Linked DNA regions of Homo sapiens: regions 1 and 3 are each linked to region 2. The links are contacts of gene promoters, found by promoter capture Hi-C in blood cells and fetal thymus (Javierre and others, 2016). All regions are on one chromosome and are shown on one strand. The core of a region is centred on a gene start or on the middle of the fragment in contact, and the rest is flanking DNA. Distances in the headings are between cores, read along the strand shown. Region 1 holds the start of NFE2L2 (NFE2 like bZIP transcription factor 2). Region 2 holds the start of FASTKD1 (FAST kinase domains 1). Region 3 holds the start of ATF2 (activating transcription factor 2).

The links. Contacts are between HindIII fragments. The CHiCAGO score rates a contact against its expected background, and 5 or more counts as called.
Region 1: the fragment with the promoter of NFE2L2 here is called in contact with the fragment with the promoter of FASTKD1 in region 2 in 2 of 17 cell types (activated CD4 T cells and total CD4 T cells); the score reaches 7.1 in activated CD4 T cells.
Region 3: a contact is called between the fragment with the promoter of ATF2 here and the fragment with the promoter of FASTKD1 in region 2, in 3 of 17 cell types (total B cells, naive CD8 T cells and total CD4 T cells). The highest score is 19.5, in total B cells.

What each region holds. Positions count from the first base shown.
Region 1 is chr2:177,262,874-177,266,082 of GRCh38, reverse strand. NFE2L2 (NFE2 like bZIP transcription factor 2) reads left to right here and starts at 1,356. Exons shown (of 5, transcript NM_006164.5): 1 at 1,356-1,551. The coding sequence starts at 1,507. RefSeq lists silencers at 1,213-2,082, 2,343-2,502 and an enhancer at 2,183-3,209. The HindIII fragment of the contact is 5,708 bases long and covers 1-3,209 here.
Region 2 is chr2:169,572,015-169,575,124 of GRCh38, reverse strand. It overlaps FASTKD1 (FAST kinase domains 1), which reads left to right and starts at 1,260. Exons shown (of 15, transcript NM_024622.6): 1 at 1,260-1,456; 2 at 2,954-3,110. The coding sequence starts at 3,096. RefSeq lists enhancers at 1,049-1,148, 1,051-1,653, 1,509-1,678. The HindIII fragment of the contact is 12,279 bases long and covers 1-3,110 here.
Region 3 is chr2:175,166,166-175,169,599 of GRCh38, reverse strand. ATF2 (activating transcription factor 2) reads left to right here and starts at 1,397. Exons shown (of 14, transcript NM_001880.4): 1 at 1,397-1,550. It overlaps MIR933 (microRNA 933), which reads left to right and starts at 1,891; the gene lies at 1,891-1,967. RefSeq lists a silencer at 1,379-1,448. The HindIII fragment of the contact is 6,773 bases long and covers 1-2,949 here.

The DNA.
Region 1 (3,209 bases), core at 107-2,606, 7.7 Mb before region 2:
GCAGCTTTTTGGGCGTTGATTGCTATAGTCAGGGGTGTGTGTGTGGTTTTTGAATGAAATAGCAAAACCACTGCCAGTATTATCTACTTCACCTGGTTTTGAATAATTCCAGGAAGCTAGAAACTGAAAACCAGTCTTGTATAGAGTTAGAAAGATTGTAAATGCAGAAGAGGAAGAAAAAAACAAAACTAAACCATTTATCTATCCTCTTTGAACCCTTATAAGAGTTCACAATATTCCTCGTTTCAAATACTTGAAGTCTTCTCTGGGCAATGATTAATTTTTAAATAATTGTTTTTAATGTAAGACATAAAACATACGCACTGCAGATTTAAAGCATACTTGGAAGTAACAAGGAGAAACATAAAAATCGTTGATTCCACAGCATTTAATATATTGGTAACCTTCAATTTTTTTCTAGGCACGTTTTTATAAAATGAGCCAATACTATACAAACGTTTTTGTAACTTTTTTTAATTTGTACTATTTTGTGAGTACGTGAAAAAGAAATTTGTAAAGAGTAAACGATTACAGCATGTTGTGGTATTACACACTGTTGAAGGGCGCCATCTGTGGCGTGGTGGCTGCGCTTTGGTGGGAAGAGGTTCTCTTGGGGTTCCCGTTTTTCTCCCAGCTCTGGGTGGGCAATACTGACCACTCTCCGACCTAAAGGGGCTTCTCCGTTTGCCTTTGACGACCTGAGCTTAGGAGAATGGAGACACGTGGGAGTTCAGAGGAGGGCGTTCAGGGTGACTGCGAACACGAGCTGCCGGAGCTGTCCACATCTCCCCTAGGCAGGGCCCACTGGCCCCAGCCCGGGAAGGGAGCAAGGGCGGGAGGGCAGTTGGCAGTGGCACGGTCTGGGTCCAAATCTTTAGCCCCCCCCACCCCGGCTGGCGCCATTCTCGGGCGGTAAAGTGAGATAAAAGCAGGGCAAGGTTCTGCAACTCCAAATCAGGGAGGCGCAGCTCCTACACCAACGCCTTTCCGGGGCTCCGGGTGTGTTTGTTCCAACTGTTTAAACTGTTTCAAAGCGTCCGAACTCCAGCGACCTTCGCAAACAACTCTTTATCTCGCGGGCGAGAGCGCTGCCCTTATTTGCGGGGGAGGGCAAACTGAACGCCGGCACCGGGGAGCTAACGGAGACCTCCTCTAGGTCCCCCGCCTGCTGGGACCCCAGCTGGCAGTCCCTTCCCGCCCCCGGACCGCGAGCTTCTTGCGTCAGCCCCGGCGCGGGTGGGGGATTTTCGGAAGCTCAGCCCGCGCGGCCGGCGGGGGAAGGAAGGGCCCGGACTCTTGCCCCGCCCTTGTGGGGCGGGAGGCGGAGCGGGGCAGGGGCCCGCCGGCGTGTAGCCGATTACCGAGTGCCGGGGAGCCCGGAGGAGCCGCCGACGCAGCCGCCACCGCCGCCGCCGCCGCCACCAGAGCCGCCCTGTCCGCGCCGCGCCTCGGCAGCCGGAACAGGGCCGCCGTCGGGGAGCCCCAACACACGGTCCACAGCTCATCATGATGGACTTGGAGCTGCCGCCGCCGGGACTCCCGTCCCAGCAGGTGCTGCCTCGGCCCTCTGGGCCCTGCGGTGGTGCCGGGACGGGGGCGGGGGAGCTAGGGAACCGCGGCCCGGGAGGGACAGCCGCAACCGGCTTCCCCCACGTCTGGCCAGAGCCAGGACCGCGGCGCTGGGTAGAGCCGCCGCGCTTGCGCCGGGGCAGGGCGGGGAGGGGCAGCGGGGACGCGGCCGGGTGATCCGACCGACCACGAGCCCGAGGGCGAACGGGTGGGAAGTTGCGGGAAGGTCTGGGGACTGAGCCCGCTCGCGTGGGCCTTGGGGGAGAATCCAGCCGCGTCCCCGGGCCCGAGAGCTGGGACTCCGGAGCCCCTAAGTTTGAGCGGCCCGGTGGGCGGCGGGGCAAGAGGGGGCGGACGCTGGCCGTCTGAGCCGGCGCGGCCCGGCCCTTCCGGGGCTGCGCGGCTCCCCCGCCTCGGTGCCGGCAAAAATGTGCCTAGTCACGGGGCCGCTCTCGGGGGAACTGAGGTCGCCTTCGGGCTGGGACCCGGAGCCCCTTCGCCGCGCCCCAAGACCTCCTTGAGTGCGGGCTGCGACGCGCTCACCCCGCTGGGCCGTCTGTGGGCGCGGCTTTGCGAAGTCATCCATCTCTCGGATCACTCTCTGGCAGCCTTGAGCTCTCTTGAAAGCCCAGCCCCGGGACGAGGGAGGAGCGCCTTAAGTGCCCAGCGGGCTCAGAAGCCCCGACGTGTGGCGGCTGAGCCGGGCCCCGCGCACTTTCTCGGCCGGGGAGGGGTTCGGGCTCGGGCACCCGGAGTTGGCCCCTCGTAACGCCGCGGGAAAGTGCGGGCGAGGGCAGTGGACTCTGAGGCCGGAGTCGGCGGCACCCGGGGCTTCTAGTTCGGACGCGGTGCCCCCTGGTGGCGCTCACCGCGCGCGTGGCCTTGGCTTCCGTGACAGCGCTCGGTTGGCCGTCACAGCAGCCCTCGGTTGGCCCTTTCCTGCTTTATAGCGTGCAAACCTCGCCGCGCCAGGGCCAAGGGACAGGTTGGAGCTGTTGATCTGTTGCGCAATTGCTATTTTCCCCAGAGCGGCTTTGTCTTTGGATTTAGCGTTTCAGAATTGCAATTCCAAAATGTGTAAGACGGGATATTCTCTTCTGTGCTGTCAAGGGTAAGAGTTGCGAGTGTAGATTAGAATTTCTGTTGCTTTTAGTCTGTTAGTAATTTTTTGCTTTCAGCTATTATTTCTCCCCTGAGTACTTTATATATGTTTCCTTTTCAGTTGAGAATTTGCCTCAATTTCTTAACATGTTCCCCCTCTTCTGCAGGGGCAGAGAGTGGAACGCTTGCGTTTCAAAACACTTGCTAATTTCTGTGAATTGTTATAAAAGTGAAAAGAAGTTTCTGCTCATCCTTTGTAGAAACTTTAAAAGTAGATATTTATATTTCTAACTTCTTTTGTAAATGAATTTTAGGAAAAAAATTGGAATTCAAGGAAATGTGTACTTGATGTACAGTAAATACGTTTATGCTGTTAAATGTAAAGTTTTCGGTTAATTCCAAAGATCTATTGTAAAGTTTTAAGTTATGGACAATGTATTAATTGTGCTTTTTTCCCCCTTTAAAGTTGTTTGTCTTGAACTTTTCCCCAGTCTTCATTGGGATTGTATTCTTCTGGTTCCAACTAGTGAAGAATTAAA
Region 2 (3,110 bases), core at 11-2,510:
GCCGCCCTGTCCGGGAGGTGAGGGGCGCCTCTGCCCGGCCACCCCTACTGGGAAGTGAGGAGCCCCTCTGCCCGGCCACCACCCCGTCTGGGAGGTGTACCCAACAGCTCATTGAGAACGGGCCATGATGACAATGGCGGTTTTATGGAATAGAAAAGGGGGAAAGGTGGGGAAAAGATTGAGAAATCGGAAAGTTGCTGTGTCTGTGTAGAAAGAAGTAGACATGGGAGACTTTTCATTTTGTTCTGTACTAAGAAAAATTCTTATCCTGTTGATCTATGACCTTACCCCCAACCCTGTGCTCTCTGAAACATGTGCTGTGTCCACTCAGGGTTAAATGGATTAAGGGCGGTGCAAGATGTGCTTTGTTAAACAGATGGTTGAAGGCAGCATGCTCCTTAAGAGTCATCACCACTCCCTAATCTCAAGTACTCAGGGACACAAACACTGCAGAAGGCCGCAGGGTCCTCTGCCTAGGAAAACCAGAGACCTTTGTTCACTTGTTTATCTGCTGACCTTCCCTCCACTATTGTCCTACGACCCTGCCAAATCCCCCTCTGCGAGAAACACCCAAGAATGATCAATAAAAAAAATAAATAAATAAAATAAAAAAAAGAAAGTTGCACAGCATATTCCAACAAATATCAGTTTGGTACCTTTAGAGCCTTACTTTGTTGTAGTGATTATCAGCTGAAAATTATGTCTGTTGTAACTTTGGTAAGCATTCCACTTTGGTTATTTATTAGTGGTATTTTTTTTTTAAGTGTCAAGTGTCAAATCTTGGGACTATTAAAATACCATGGTAAGTAAAAAAAAAATATGGTCTGAGAACTGGTACCTATCCACGACATAAGTGCAGAAACTGAGAGTATGAGTTTGCATACTTTCAAAGTTACTCGACAGAGTTATTTCGTATATGCTAAAAAATAATAAGAAAAATCTGTACGTGTCTTTTCCATGTTTACATTTTTAAATTTCATTTTCCTAAGTATATTTTTGTGTATATTATAAAAGTAGTAGACTTCCAAGGACTAGGAGAACAACCTTAGATAGTAGAGAATCACCTAAACGACCTATATCTTCTTCAACAGCTTAAGCTGTGTACTGCGCTAGAGCCTCCCTCAATGAGGAACTACAATGCCCAGAATTCCCCCAAAATGCGTGAGCGACGTCCATTTCACCCACCTCGCCGCGACCCACCCTGGGATATGTAGTGCGTGACTTCCGCAGTGCACGCTGCGCCTGCCGGGCATTTTTTCCTGGTTTGGGGGCAAGGTCTCATGGGAAAGGTCATGTCTCTCGAAGAAAGGTTATAAACCCTGAGATATGAGGGTTGGGCGAGACATCCGAGCCTGTTTCGTTCCGTGTTGGGACCAGGAATAACCCTGACTTCTGAGCTTTCATAACCCCAGGATCCTCCAGAAAATTTGCGGCGCGCTGAGGGAAAACCTTGCTGGCAAGTCGGGACTGTGTGGCAGCGGCTATTTTTCTTTTCCCACCCAGCACGTTTTCGGGCTGGGGACATAGGGTTCAGTTGAGATACGGAGGCTTCCTTCGGGATATTGGGTTCTCTGAAGTGCGGATGGACTAGGGCAGGGCTGAGACCCCATTCATTCACTCATTTGTTTAGCTCTCCTTTATGCCCGGCGCAGAAGATACCCCTTAGGGTCCCAAGGCCCTTCCTGTAGTTAAGTTCCTTCCTTAAGGTCATTCAGCTGGGGCAAAGCTGGGGACTCGACACCTTTCTATGCTAACCATTGAGCTGCCTCCACTTTGAGCAGCTCAGTGGATGAATATAGTATCTTGAGGATACCTTTGATTTGTGCAGGGTTTTCTTGTGCAGGTTTGTGACCCAGGTCAGCTTAGGTCAGGATGCTGTACTGCTTGCCACAAAATAGCCTGTACTGTCGCGTCGTTTTTTCTTGTGAACAGACTGTTTGGCATAGCCGTAGAGAGGGGTCTGAGACATGAATTTAGTGATACAGCGTTGATTTGTTTGTGTAATGAAGCTGTTCAAGTGGAAAGAACTGAGTTGTAGTCCCTGCTTCACTAGTACTAGAAGGATTTTTTAAACCTTTTTGAACCTATTTTGCCTTATCTGTAAAATGGAAATAATATCAACCTGGAAGGTTAGCTGAGAGAATTTAATGAGATAATGTGTTTCAAACGTTCTTTGTAAATGGTAACATGTTGCAGAAATATTAGATTATATGACTTTAGTCCCTGCTTTTCTAACCATTACTTCTCAATTATAAATGTAAACATTTATAGCATATTTTTAAAACAAATTATTCTTTTTTCATAATTATCTTTAGTTCTTTTATTGTTTCAGCATGACTTGAAACATTACTTAATTTCTTAGTATTTCTTGATTGGTGCTTTAATTGTGTCGTTCATTGGTTAAAACCTATCCAAGGCCAGTAATGATTAAATTATATGACTTCTTTTATTTATTTATTTTCTAAAGAAAGGAATTATTTGAGCTCTTTAAGGGCACAAGAAAAAGGGGCAAGAAATTATCCTGAAAGCAAATAAACCTGAGACCATACTTCTGAAAAATTAAAAAAAAAAAGTATATATATATGTATGTATAAATATATATGGCTCTGAATTAATGCCTACACTTTTTAGAAACTTTGAAGGTGATTATTTATTTTAAACAATTTTCCTCTTTTTCGAAAAGACAGCTCTGAGTTTGTGGGCTTTTTTTTTCCTTTTATGGTAAATTTGAAAACTTTATGTAAATGTCAGATTTAAAACACTTTTAAAATGGGGTGCAGAAAGAAGCCCCTTTTTCTGGACATTTATTTTTTGATCAAATTCTGCTATCTGGTTTAGACTAAGAAAAAGTCTTTAGTTAATGCAGAAAAAATGTATTACTTTAATTTGAATTTTGGAATCATTTTGATATTAATGATGTAAGCATAACCATGTTAAACCAATTCTTTTATAGAAGCTGTACATTGGAATGCGTTTACAGTCATTGTAATGGAAGCAAAATACATGAAGGAAAAACTGTTATTTGTATCCCTGCTTATTGCACCTGACGACTAGTTGCAGATGGTTTTGTTTACCTAAGAAAACTTGTGATATAAATGAAAAAAACACCT
Region 3 (3,434 bases), core at 148-2,647, 5.6 Mb before region 2:
ACCAAAGCTACTGCCCAATTGAATCAACACTGGAAAAAATTTCAAATGGAAAAACAATTTTTTTAAAAAAATCTATTCTAATTGACCCAAACTTCTTTTGAAATGTCGTAACATTTGCAGTTCTTTTTCTCACATTAGTTGTTTTGGGAGATGGAGAGAGAAGCATCTATTTAATCAATGCGTTCTAGACCTAACAATTGTGATGTCAATCAAACATTTTGTCCACCATTTCCATCATGAGTAATCTGAACTGTGAGGTTTTGCTGACATAATTAGTGTTACACTACAATGGCACTACTACATTACTGTTACTATATGGGGACGGTACTTTCATTTTAAGTAGGAAAGTGTTAATAATTTGGCTTAATGTTTCTTAACTAAAATTAGTTTTAAAAGAGGACTGAGTTGGCTTATACACATGTATGCGGTCCAGAGACCTACCTGTTAAAATGTCAATGCCATTACAATTTCACTTTTATGCCAGATATCATTCTTGAACTTCAGGCTCATTAACTCTCATACTATCCCCCAAAACCTTTCAACAATTTTGAGAGTGTATTTTATGTTAATATATAAACTAGTTCATAATTTTGTTCCAGACTAGAAATCAGTATTTAATAAATGGAAAAAATAAGACACTGAAAATCTTTTATTGAATAATGTAAATTCTCACAGAGGCCTCTGATCATACTTTTCAACTTGTGCCTATTTATTGAATAACCAACATCCTTACAGTTAATATTAAAATCTTTAAGTTGTGTGGGGTTTTTTGGAGGGGAGGGATGGGCAATTACCAGCAAACTCCGCCTCCCCCAAACCTCACCTAACCCGAAGCTCCCCGCCTCAGGCTCCCGGGGAGCCAAGGGGTGGGCTGAGGAACGCAGCCTACTTTTACCCACCTCCCTACCTAGTGCTGGGAAGTGACGGAAACGGAGACACCCGGCTCCTGGGGCTGGGCTCGGAGGACCCATCCTGCTTTCCCTCTAGCAGCCTTTCCGGAGCTCACCACCTTTCCTCCCCTCACACCGCCAAAGCCCTGCCTAGCCCTTCACCGCCGCCTGCACCCGCGCCCTCCTCCAGCCGACAGCCAATCACAGTCTTCCACAGCTCCGGGTTTACAGAAGTAACGCTCCTTGGGCCCTCTGGTCCCGCCCCCTCCAGAACTGCTTCCCGCCCTTCGGGCTCCTTGTCCAATCATGAGCGCCCGAGTGCTCTTTGATGCCCGTCCCCTCTACCCGCCCTGCCGAAGACCCGCCTTCTTCTCCTTAAGCCTGACGGAATCACCTGACTCGGAGGCGCTCCCTCAGAAGGAAGGCAAGAAGGGGCGTGTGGGTGAAGGGGAGGGGCGCCAGAAGGAAGGTGGGGATGCCGGGAGCGGGGCGAGCGGGCGGGGGTTGTCAGTCCGATCTCGCGAGAGAGGACGGAAGCCTGTGGGAGCCCGTGGCCTTTAAAGTGCCGTTCAGCCTTTTCCTCCAGGGGTGCTTTGTAAACACGGCTGTGCTCAGGGCTCGCGGGTGACCGAAAGGATCATGAACTAGTGACCTGGAAAGGTGAGTAACGATGGGCAGAGGTCAGCAGGGCTGGAGACTGTAGGGATACGGAGAAAGAAGGCGCTAACATGGCGACGTCGCTCAGCACAGTCCCCACCCCCCGTTTCCCATCACCTCGGGTGCTCCTGACGTGCTCCTTAGCCCTTGGGGCGATTGTGGCTGTGCTGCCACCTCGGCGGCCCGCGCGGTGTGGGCTTTGGGAACCTGACTGGCTGGGCCGGACCGTTAGGTAACCAGCGTTCGTTGTTCCGGCCCCTCCCTCTCGCGCGCTTTCCTAAGGCAGAGGAAAAAGGAATAACGGCTCCCTCTTAGACCCCTCCCTCCGAATTATCTTCACCCTACTTGGGTCAGTTCAGAGGTCCTCGGGGCGCGCGTCGAGTCAGCCGTGTGCGCAGGGAGACCTCTCCCACCCACAGTCCTTGGGTTGGGCGGGGAGAGGGCCCACTCTGGTCTCCCCACCCAGTATTCAAGCGATTGAGGACCGTGTATTGGTGATGGTGGCGGGGAGGAGGATCGGGAGGCGCGGCTGAAAATAGAATCAGGGTCCCTGGCTGCGGTGCAGCTTGAAGGAAAGAATGGTGTGGAGAACCTAGGAGCTGGAAGTCTCGGCCTTTTCCGTCCTTTCCGCCACCCTCACAATCCCGCTACCCCCAGCTTTTTCCCGGTGGGGCGGGGCTTAGGTGTGGGTGCAGACTGATTCTGGTATTTTCCCTTATTTTTTTTTTTTTAAATCTCTGGGTGGACAGCAGAGCGTATGTAAAGAAATAATTTGCTTTTCATCAATGCCCTAGGGACCAGGGCCGAAAGGGAGTGTGTGTACGTGTTTTCTATGTTCGCTCGTTTAACCGAACCTAGGAGGAAAAAGAGAGGAGGAGCTGGGAACTATTTTTGTGCCCCTAGGTAGTATAAAATTGGCTTTCTTTAATGGAGAGTCTTAAAACTGGTGAGGCCAAGAGCAAAACTACTGTGAATATCATGGAGTAAAAGAGATTACTCCTGATGGACCTTAGGCATCAGAAATTTTAGTGAAAGAAATGTTTCTCTTAAAATTCAACACCTATTTTAAATAGTGATGTAAAGCATTTCTTTACATGTACCTTCAGGTTTTCTAATGCTTTCCTGGCTATTATTTAACTGGTACTAAGGGATTGACTAATCCCTAAATTATAATGTGAAAGTTTAAATTTCTTAGAGGTTTTAAATTATGGAGACGGTCACAATGCATGCATTTAAGATATACATTTAAAATCAGAACAAAAACTGACTTTCTTTGAGCACACTTTTTGTCCTATTTGAAGAAACATGACCACTGGCGTTATCATTGTGAGTAACAGCCGTTCTGATCTTTAAATAGCCATATAGCTTTGGTCTCTTGAATCAAAATTATGAAGGTAAAGCTTTATTTATAAAAGCTTGTTAAAAAGTCAAACCTACAGGTTTAAGTGTCTTAAAGTACAAACACAGAAGCAGTTTTATCATGTATTAATTTTTTTTTCCTTACTTGAGGAATCCACCGTAAAAACTTTGTTTCAAAAATGTTAGGAACATCCTTGTAAAATACGTTTTAAATATACAGATTCCCCTCTGCAGATTAAGAAAGTTCATGGATCTTTAAGGCCATCAGTAGTTGCGTAATAGTTAAGAATCCTCGTCTTTGTAAAATAATTTCTAGGAATCTTCCAAATTTACCGTGATGTGTAAAAGAGTTTCTGAGAATCTTCCAAATTTACCATGATGTGTATGTTGCCTTCCTAAGACGTTTAATCTTGCTTTGAGAGAATGCTACTGCCATTAAGTTTTAAGAACTGATTTAAAATGTAATATCGTGGAAATTTAGAACTTAGTTGTTATGTATTTTAATTGTCAGGAAGGAGCTTTCAGGGA